3 separate regions of the Homo sapiens genome follow, and regions 1 and 3 are each linked to region 2. The links are contacts of gene promoters, found by promoter capture Hi-C in blood cells and fetal thymus (Javierre and others, 2016). All regions are on one chromosome and are shown on one strand. The core of a region is centred on a gene start or on the middle of the fragment in contact, and the rest is flanking DNA. Distances in the headings are between cores, read along the strand shown.

The links. Contacts are between HindIII fragments. The CHiCAGO score rates a contact against its expected background, and 5 or more counts as called.
Region 1: a fragment that was not itself captured here is called in contact with the fragment with the promoter of CAMSAP1 in region 2 in 10 of 17 cell types (naive CD8 T cells, neutrophils, naive B cells and 7 more); the score reaches 9.3 in naive CD8 T cells.
Region 3: a contact is called between a fragment that was not itself captured here and the fragment with the promoter of CAMSAP1 in region 2, in 1 of 17 cell types (neutrophils). The highest score is 5.1, in neutrophils.

The regions. Positions count from the first base shown.
Region 1 is chr9:136,116,393-136,119,803 of GRCh38, reverse strand. TMEM250 (transmembrane protein 250) reads left to right here and starts at 929. Exons shown (of 2, transcript NM_152833.3): 1 at 929-1,319; 2 at 2,780-3,411. The coding sequence starts at 2,904. The coding sequence ends at 3,323. LOC107987142 (a long non-coding RNA gene) reads right to left here and starts at 2,012. Exons shown (of 2, transcript NR_165242.1): 1 at 1,902-2,012. RefSeq lists enhancers at 1-101, 102-678, 1,832-2,407, 2,408-2,983 and silencers at 346-735, 766-1,815. The HindIII fragment of the contact is 6,377 bases long and covers 1-3,411 here.
Region 2 is chr9:135,905,797-135,909,020 of GRCh38, reverse strand. CAMSAP1 (calmodulin regulated spectrin associated protein 1) reads left to right here and starts at 1,475. Exons shown (of 17, transcript NM_015447.4): 1 at 1,475-2,021. The coding sequence starts at 1,862. CAMSAP1-DT (CAMSAP1 divergent transcript) reads right to left here and starts at 1,188. Exons shown (of 2, transcript XR_007061860.1): 1 at 102-1,188. RefSeq lists silencers at 907-1,586, 1,627-1,736, 1,817-1,886, 2,287-2,336 and an enhancer at 2,983-3,224. The HindIII fragment of the contact is 15,122 bases long and covers 1-3,224 here.
Region 3 is chr9:136,138,055-136,141,574 of GRCh38, reverse strand. No RefSeq gene overlaps it. Among named protein-coding and RNA genes, the nearest start is that of TMEM250, 21 kb to the right of the region's middle. The HindIII fragment of the contact is 3,792 bases long and covers 1-3,513 here.

The sequences.
Region 1 (3,411 bases), core at 552-3,051, 210 kb before region 2:
GCCACAGTGGAGAAGGTAGCTGTGCCAGCCCTCAGGGCGGCCCTGGTCCAAAGGACAGGGGCCCAGGAGCCAGCTCGCCGTCCCGGGAGGCCTGCAGCCAATGACGGGCCTGGTGGGCAGGAGGGCCCAGCCCCCTTGTTCCAGTGCCTTGAATTTGAAGGGCCACCCACTTTACGGTCGCCCCAGGGGCTGCTGACCCTGCCTTCCCCTCCTACCCAGCAGCCACACCCAGGAGCGCTCCCCAACACATTCCTCGCTGGAAACCCCCAGGACAACCGCCAGCCTGTACGAACCAGGCGTGAGGACACTAACACAAGTCCCCTTCCTTCACTGGGGGGCGGCGGGGGGGCGGCCCTGGGGCTGCTGCTGGGCCTGCTCGTGCTCCGGGGCTGTCCCTACTTCGGCTGCCGACGTCGCCGCCGGCCCACCGGGCCTCGCAGCTACACACCCGATCCGTGCCGCCCGGGTCCGCGTGGCGTCAGCCGCCCCCACCCTTCCCCGCCCTCCTGGAGCCTGGGGGGCGCCCTCATTCCCGCCGCCGCCCTGTCCTCCCAGCCCCAGGCCGCGCAGGAGGCCTTCGCACACGGCCCCGCGAGGACCAGACCTGCTCCCGGTCCCTGGGCCGCCCACCCCCGCCGGGAAAGCGGCTTCCTCCGGGGCCCGGCCCCACCCCAGCGACGGCAGCAGCGCGCCGGGTCGCAGACACCTCAGTCCGGGGCCAGGACCACGGTCAAGCCCTCTGCTGGGGCCAAAGGACTGCTCCACGGAAGCGCGCCTGCGCACTGCCTCTCCACGGGATGCGGTAGCGCGTGCGCGGAGGCGCGGCCCAGGAACGGCAAGCGCAGGCGCAGAAGACCAGGCGCGGCACCGAGGGCGTTCGGGGGAGGGAACGCTACGGACTGCTCGCAGCGTGCGCACGCACGCACGCACGCACGCCCTCGGGAAGCGACGAGTCCGGGACGCCCAGCGCGGGCCCGGAGCAGGGGGAAGGGAAGTGCGGCTCGGTCGGCGCGGGTGGAGGGGGCGTGAGGCCGCCCTACGGTGGCCGTCGAGGGACGGCGCTACGGCTCCCACGCTAGGCCAAACGCCTCCGGCGGCCGCGCCCGAGAGCCCCTTCACCTGCAGGGCGACCCCAGCCGGCGACGCGTGAACCACGCCCTCAGCCGCCTTGCCAGCGCCCCCAGCCGCGCGCCCCAGCACCATGCGGCCGCCCTGCGCACGGAGCCCCGAGGGACAGGGGCACCCGCAGGCCCGGCCCCTAGCACCGCCGGCCGGCCCCGAGGTCCGGGACGCCGGCGCCGCCGCGGAGAGGGCACCGGGTGAGCTGCGGTCGGGGACCCGGCCTAGGCGGGGGCCGTCTCCAGGGCAACGCGCGGCGCGGGACCCGGAAGTGGCTCCGGCAGGGGCTCTGCAGCCAGGGGGCCCGGCGCGGCGCGGCGCAGGCCCGGTGCTCACGCGGAGTTGGCCGGGGCCCGTTGCGTCTCTGCGGCCCCGAGGAAACAGTCCTGGGTCCATGGGCCGGGCCGAGCGGGCGTCTGCAGAAACGCAGGGACCCGGATGGAGCCGCGGGCCGCGAGACCCTGCGGGGACACAGCTCCGCCGAGTCGCGTTTGAGTGGCACCGCCATGGCCGGGGTCCCGGCCGGGGCGAGCTCCAGGCCAAGGCCGGCCTTAAATAGGGCCGCTCTGGCCCCTGCACCCCGTGGAGGAGCCGGGCGGAGGGAGAGGGCGAGGTCGGGCCCCTGCGGGCACGGGAGGGTCAGGCGGCCCCGGCCCCTCCCTCCTCCGCCCTGGCCAGGTCCCCACGGCAGGGCCCCAGGCTGAATCTGAAGGCAGGCGAAGCTCTTGGCAACAGTCCCCTGTAATGTTACCAACTTTCCTGCTCAGATTTTATTTCCTGACCTTTGAGTTCATTCCGTCTACAGATTATTTCGGCAAGGTATAAACGGCCTTTACTAGGTGAAGCTGGAGAGCCAAATGCCGCCTCTGCTCTTTGCAGCCCAGTCTGTAAGGGCCGCTGCCAGGCCCCGGGCCGACCCCACTGTGCACGCCAGGCCCAGCCCCTTCCCTCCCACAGCTACCCACAAAGGCAGTGCTATTGGCACCCCCATTGGACAGAGCAGGAGCCGTCTTGGGGTCAGGTGACCTGCCCAAAGTCACTGCTAGGGAAGGACAGTGCCAGGGTTCAGGCCCAGCAAGGTGACCCCACGGCCCCCGAGCCGTCCATCTGGCACCCAGCAGGTTGCTGGAGTCACCTGCTCCCGCCGGGCTCGTTTTCGGTTCACCTGCGAGCCCTGGAGTCCCTTTTCCCGGCCCTGTGGTGGCTTCTTGCAGATGCCATTTAAGGGCTTGCATCAGCCCTGGGTCAGGCAGCCGCAGAAGACCAGGGCAGTAACGGGCAAACTGCCTAAGAGCAGAGTGTGGTCCAGCTAGTGGGGAGCTGCGAGGATCCTGCAGGAAAGAGCCACTCTTGCCCCTTCCCATCCGTTTTGGCATTGACCACTTCCGGGGGCCTCCCCTGGCCACTGTCCCCAAGGCCCCCTTTCCCCAGTGCTGCCCTAGAACAAGCACTTTGGCTTCCCCAGGTGGTGGGCCCCTTGGAAGTATCCTTGGGAGGGTTTGTGGAAAAGAGCCCAGGAGTGCCTGCAGATCCCGCCCTGGACTCCATTTTCCCGTAGTCCTGGTGCTGGAGTTTGTGTCCACTTTCGCCAGCTGATTGCCTGGGGAGGGATCCGCATGGTGTCCTCATACTGACGTGGGTTTTGCGGCTCTCCCCGCAGGCCGACGCCTCCCCCCAGGGTCAGCTGCGGGCTCCCAGGCCTAGGCGCCCATGACCCCTACGCCAACAGCCGCCTGGACACCGCCGCCGCCACTGCGACCTAGCGCCGCCGCCGCCGGGGCCCAATGCCGGTCATGCCCATTCCGCGGCGGGTGCGCTCCTTCCACGGCCCGCACACCACCTGCCTGCATGCGGCCTGCGGGCCCGTGCGCGCCTCCCACCTGGCCCGCACCAAGTACAACAACTTCGACGTGTACATCAAGACGCGCTGGCTGTACGGCTTCATCCGCTTCCTACTCTACTTTAGCTGCAGCCTGTTCACTGCGGCGCTCTGGGGTGCGCTGGCCGCCCTCTTCTGCCTACAGTACCTGGGCGTTCGCGTCCTGCTGCGCTTCCAGCGCAAGCTGTCGGTGCTGCTGCTGCTGCTGGGCCGCCGGCGCGTGGACTTCCGCCTGGTGAACGAGCTGCTCGTCTATGGCATCCACGTCACCATGCTGCTGGTCGGGGGCCTGGGCTGGTGCTTCATGGTCTTCGTGGACATGTGAGGGCCGTGGGTGCGAGCTTGATGTATCGTCCCGGCCTGTGGCTGTGTTCTCTCCATGGGTGGGGTCGGCCAGCGCCTTCCCTTCGCCC
Region 2 (3,224 bases), core at 226-2,725:
AGTCTTCCGAAGGCTGCCCATTTCCTGCAGAGAAGGGGCCACAGTTCTGACTGTGCAGGACCTGTCTGCATCCCTCCATGTCCCCACCTCCCATTTCCTACCAGTCCTTCCAGCTCCTGCGTTCTCGACTTAGTGGCCTCTACTGTGTTTCTTACACTCCAGGCTCTCGTGTCTCAGAGGCTCTGTCTGCCGTGCTCCTTGCTCAAGACAGTACTTCTGCAGATATCCTTACCCTCGACGCCCACGTCCCGCCGGTCTTTGCTCAAATAAGTGCCCTCCTCCTATGGCTTTCCTTGACCGCTCTGCCCTGTCCACCTCGTGTTCTTTTCAGACGGCTGACTCAAGAAAAAATAGACAATCTCAACAGACCTATAACAAGTGAAGAGACTCAATTAGTAACCAAAAAACTATGAATCAAATAAGTCATCAAAAAAGCCCAGGCCCAAATGGCTTCAAGGTTGAATTGAAGCCTGCACGTGGGTTGGTATGTGAATGACGGACTGCCTGGGTCCTCTGGGCACCTGGCATTTCATACATGTTCCGCCTCTGGCACGGGGTGTCTCGACCAGGTACAGACAGGCTGGGAGCCCCGCGCCGGGCGCCCGCTCCCTGGAAGCTCGACCTCTCCCTGCCGTCAAGGCGCCGGTGGGCGGCACGTGGGCCGGCTCTCCCGGGGGCAGTTCTCTATTTCGCTGGTGAGGTTCTCAGACCAAATCCTCGGAATGCAAACTCTCACGGCGTTCCCGTAATTCTCAGCCCAGCGCGGGCCCCGACGCAGGCTCCAGGGGAACGAAGTCAGCGTCCCTTCCGGGGGATGCGCCGGCGGGGCCGCACCTGTTTCTGCCTCAGGGGTCCAAACGCCCACCTTCCCTGCACCGGGACGGGGGTCTGGAGACTGGCACGTCCACCTGGTGCCCGTCTGCTGGGCTGTCGCCTGCCGAGGTCGCCGCCGGCCACACCCACGAGGTCCCCAGGGCGCCGGCGGCGAGACCTCGGCCGGCCAGGGGGCCGGGCTGTGGCTGAGGTGGGACGAGCCAGGGCCGGGGAGGAGACACGGCGCTAAAAGAGGGCAGCTGCGGGCTCGGCAGGATCCCCGCCGCCGACCCACTCCACCCACCCCGCGCCGCCCACTCCCCGCTGCCTACGCCGCGCTCCACACCGCGGGCCTTAGAGCCTGAGGAAAGCAACGGGGCAGGCGCGGACCAGGGCGGGTCCTACTGCGCCTGCGGAAGCGGGCGGGGAGGGGCGGGTCGACGCTCACTGCGCCTGCGGAAAGGGGCGGGGCAGGCACAGGCCTGCGGGTGCCACCTACTGCGCCTGCGGAAAGGGGCGGGGCGGGCGCGGGCTGGCGGGCGGTGCCTACTGCGCCTGCGGAAAGGGGCGGGGCAGGCGCGAGAAGGGAGCGGAGCTGGGGGCGGGGTCGAGGGCGGGGTGGCGGGCGGTGCCTACTGCGCCTGTGCGAGGCCCCGGCGGTGAGCGCGCTCCCGCTCCTTGGCCACCGCCTCAGCCGCTGTCGCCGCCGCCGCCGCTCACCCGGGACCGCGCACGCGCTGCCACCGCCCCCGGCCCGCTCCCGCCCCCGCGCCCGCCCCCGCCCCCGGCCCGCGCCCTCCTGCCGCCGCCTCTTTGGGCCGCGGGCTCGGCACCTCCTCCGCTCGGGCTCAGCGCCCGCAGCATGCAGCAGCCGCGGGGGCGGCGACGGCGGCGGCTGTGAGGTGAGGCGGGGGCCGCGCTCGGGCGCCCCTCCCGGCTGGCCGGCTGCGGGGCCGAGTGGTGGCTCGGGGCGCACCGGGCCCGGCGCGGCGAGGGGCGGCGGCGCCTTTGTTGCGGCCGGGCCGCCGCCTCAGCCCTTTGTCTGCAGATGGTGGACGCGAGCGGCCGCGCCGCCGCCGAGGGCTGGAGGAAGATGGAGGCCCCGCCGGACGGCGCCGCCGACCTCGTGCCCCTGGACCGCTACGACGCGGCGCGCGCCAAGATCGCCGCCAACCTGCAGTGGATCTGCGCCAAGGCCTACGGCCGAGGTGGGCCGGGTGAGGGGCGCGGGGCGGGGGCCAGGGGCGCGGGCCGGGGCCGGGGGACGCGGCCGGGGTCCGGCCGGGTCGGGGTCCGCGCGCCGCGCCTTTGTGCCGCGTCCGCACAGGGTCGGGGCTGGGCCGGCCGCCTCCGAGGTCCTGGCGGCGCCCGGGCAACGCGGAGCGTGGGGACGCGGTCACCTGGCGAGTGGGCGTCCCTGCGGCGGAGGGCGGCGTGGGTCGGGGCTTCCGCTCCTATTTCGGGAGTGCCCCCAGCCTCCCGTTGGCGGCGGCGGCGGCGGGAAGGAGCTGCCCGGTTCTGGGCGCAGGGAGGGACCATGGGGACGCGGGGCCGCCGTCTGAGGCGCCGCTTCCCGGCGCGCCGGGCATCGTCCAGTGCTGGACCTGTGATTCCGAGCCTTGCACTTGTTATGAATTTTGATGCTTACAAGCTGTCAGCTGTTGAATTCCCCAACTAGAAATTGCGTATTCCGCGCATTGTGCTTAATCATAATGATCCCCTTTGGTTAATTCCTGTTTGGAAGAACTAGGTAACCTTGTTACTCAGTCCAGTTTGTTAGGCCCTAATGTGCTTAGTGGATTAAGACGCTTCTGTTTCGTGCCCTGGGAACAGGACAGACCTAGTGATTCTCGTCAGTGGCTGACTTCTTTATTAATTTCAGGTGCTTTGTTTCAGGTACAATTAAAGGTTAATATTTCTGCAATCCTCTTTTCATTTGAAGCATTCTTAAAATATTTGCCTTTATTCTGGTGAAAAATTACCCTTTTTAGAGTAAGACTAAAGGAGACAGCCCTTCCAGAGAAGAGTTCAGTTGACCAGTTTGGAAAACGCTGAGTAGGCGTTGCCCTGTTTGACAGTGGCCTGTGCCCCAGCTAGACTCGAGTTAGTCATAAGGACAAACGCGTTTTGTAAGTTTTAGGGATTAAATAACTCGCCTTATTTCAAACTGGTTTTTGTACTGTGTAAGTAGTAATTGGGAAAGAGTTTTTCCTTTGACAGTTTTCAGTTTTACAGTTCTTGTTTACTGGCTCAGTGGAACCTTAGTTTCTGTGTTGTAATGAGGAAGAAACACTGCTACATCCAAGACTTCACATGAGTTTTTGAGAACGGAATTGGTAAGATGTAGGTATGAAACTTGAGTCAGGTGCAAAGAACAGCCCGAGAGCGGACGCCTGGGTATCTTGCAGTCA
Region 3 (3,520 bases), core at 368-2,867, 230 kb before region 2:
CCCGAGTAGCTGGGACTACAAGCATGCACCAACACGCCCAGTTAGTTTTTGTATTTTTAGTAAAGACAGGGTTTCGCCATGTTGGCTAGACTGGTCTCAAACTCCTGACCTCAGGTGATCAGCCCACCTCGGCCTCCCAAAGTGCTGGGATTACAGGTGTGAGCCACTGCACCCAGCTGACCTCTATATTTTAAATAATAGCTTTATTGAGATAGAACTCACATCGCATCCAATTTATCCAGTTAGAGCGTATGATTCAATGGCTTTCTGTATACTCACGGATGTGTGCAACTATCAACACAGTCAATTTTGGAACATTTTCTTCACTTCAGAAAGAAACCCCAGGAAATTCTGGCACGAGCTACGATGGGGACGTGCCTGGAGGATGTTGTGCTCAGGGAAAGCAGCCAGCCATGAAAAGGCAAGGCCTGCCTGATTCCTCCTCCGAGAGGCCCTGGAGACAGACAGCAGAGGCGTGTACGCCAGGGGCGGGGGGAGGGGGTGGGAACAGAGCTTCAGTTTGGAAAGAGGGAAAGCTGTGTCGATGGAGGAAGATGTTGTTTGCACAGCAACGTGAATGCACTTAATGCCACTGAGGCGTGCGGTTCAGAATCGTGAGGATGGAGTGATGGTTAATTTCATGTGTCAACTTGACTTGGCTGCTGGGTTCCCAGATATCTGTTCGAACATTTGGCTGGGTGCAGTGGCTCATGCCTGTAATGCCAACGCTTTGGGAGGCCGAGGCCAGAGGATCGCTTGAGCCCAGGAGTTTGAGACTAGCCTGGGCAACACAGTGAGACCCGGTCTCTACAAAAATAAATAAATTAGGCTGGCCACAATGGCTCACCCTGTAATTCCAGCACTTTGGGAGGTCGGGGCAGGTGGATGACTTGAGGCCAGGAGTTCGAGACCAGCCTGGCCAACATGGTTAAACCCCGCCTCTACTAAAAAATACAAAAATTAGCCGGGCCTGGTGGTGCACACCTGTAATCCCAGCTACTCGGGAGGCTGAGGCACGAGAATCACTTGAAGCTGGGAGGCGGAGGGTACAGTCAGCTGAGTTCGTGCCACTGCATTCCCGTCTGGGTGACAGAGTGAGACTCTGTCTCAAAAAATAAATAAATAATAAATAAGCTGGGCATGGTGGTGTGCACCTGTAGTCTCAGCTACTTGAGGCTGAGGTGGGAGGGACACATAAGCCCAGGAGTTCGAGGCTGCAGTGAGCCGAGATCACGCCACTCATTCCTTTTTTTTTTAGGCCCACATCACAGTTCCCTCAATAGATCTATTGTTTATCCACTCACCCATCCATGGGCCTTGGGGCTGTTTCCACATTTTGGCTTTTGTGAGTAACGCTGCTGTGGACATTCCTGTGCAAGTTCTTGCAGGTGCCTGCTTTCATTTTTTTGGGTTTGAACCCAGGAATTGGATTGCTTGGTCACATGGTAACTGTGCTTCAGAGTCTGAAGAACCACCAGAGTGTTTTCGCAAAGCTCAACCATTATTCCATTCTATTCTATTCTATTCTATTCTATTCTATTCTATTCTATTCTATTCTATTTTAATTTTTAGTCAAGTCTTGCTCTGTCACCCAGGCTGGAGTGCAGTGGCTCGATCTCAGCTCACTGCAACCTCTGCCTCCCAGGTTCAAGCAATTCTCCTGACTCAGCCTTCTGAGTAGCTGGAACTACAGGCATGCACCACTATGCCCAGCTCATTTTTGTATTTTTAGTAGAGACGGGCTTTCACCATGTTGGCCAGGCTGGTCTTGAACTCCTGACCTCAGGTGATCCACCCGCCTCAGCCTCCCAAAGTGCTGGGATTACAGGTGTGAGCCACCGCACTCAGCCCTTACCTCTATTCTATTGATTGATTGATTGATTTTTTTTTTTTTTTTTTTTTGGTAAGAGATAGAGTCTCACTCTGTCATCCAGGCTAGAGTACAGTGGTGTGATCACAGCTCACCACAGGCTTGAACTACTGGGTTCAAATGATTCTCCCACCTCAGCCTCCTGAGTAGCTAGGACTACAGGCACGCACCACCACAACTGGCTAATTTTTTTTACATTATTTTTTGTAGAGATGGAGTCTCGCTATGTTGCCCAGGCTGGTCTCCAACTCCAGGCTTCAATCAGTCCCCCCTCGTCTTCCCAAAGTGCTGGGATCACAAGCAGGAGCCCCTGTGCCCCGCCACCAGCCTCTATTTTTAAAAGCTGTTTGTGGCTGGGTGCAGTGGCTCACGCCTGTAATCCCAGCACTTTGGGAGGCCAAGGTGGGCGGATCACCTGAGGTCAGGAGTTCGAGACCAGCCTGACCAACATGGAGAAACCCCGTGTCTACAAAAATGCAAAAATTAGCCAGGCATGATGGCGGGTGCCTGTAATCCCAGCTACTCAGGGGGCTGAGGCAGGAGAATTGCTTGGACCTGGGAGGTGGAGGTTGCAGTGAGCCAAGATCGTGCCATTGCACTCCAGCCTGGGCAACAAGAGCGAAACTCCATCTCAAAAAAAAAATAAATAATAAATAATTAAAAAAATCCCTGCTTTTATGATCTATTCCAATTAGGAAAGAGAAATTTCCTTCTACAGAAGGTATTCTCCCGCCCTGGGAGCAGCCAAGAGTCAAAGGTCACCACTGCATACTGGACAGGAGGGCTTGTGTCCTTCTGAGGCTTTCAGTAATGAAGGGCTGTCGCCGGAGCTGCTGTTCCAGATGCTTGGGGGGCTTTAATCTCGAGGTGACTTGGAGGCTCACATGTCCTGCAGAGGGCGCTGGCGTTCCTGGGAGACAGGTGAGTGAAGGGTTTCCTGTGTGCAAACACCCCACTGCCTTTCTTGTGTCCCGCTCCTTCCCGGGAGCCATCAAGCTCCAGTGCAGCCACCGCGTGGTGCTCTGTACTCTAGGGACCTGGCTGGGGACATGTGAGGCACCACTGGGTGAGACCACCTGCCATCAGGACTACAGCTCCCTCAGGAGCAAGGCAGGGCTGAAACTGTCCAGGAAGGACCAAACTTTCCAAAAATAACCCACAAAATGGATTCCCTGCACCCCACATCCTCCTCCCCATCCAGAGGCCCCCTGGGATCACCTAAGGAAACCCCTCTCCACCGCCAGCCCGGGGACCAGCAGAGACCCGAGCCACTGTGGGATTTCCAGAAACCCCACCCAGTAGCAAGGGCGGCCTTTCCCCATGGCGAAAAACCCTTGGCCTAGGGAAGGGAGGTTTTGGGGAGGGGAGAGGAGGGAAGGGGAAGGGAGGGGGAGGGAGGGGGAGGGAGGGGAGAGGAGGGGAAGCGAGGGGAGAGGAGGGTGGGTCAGCAGAGGATTCTGCCCGTGCTGCTGTGAGACAAACCTCACCCAGCGGAGGAGGGATTTTCCTTTTTGGCTGTCCGACTCCACCTGCCAAAATTCACAAGCTCACACAAAAGAGGTGTTTGGCACTTGAATTCCACAGAAAATTAAATCAATTACCAAGTCTAATAAAGAACTCCAGGTTTTTAATTAAACTAAGCTTAATTAA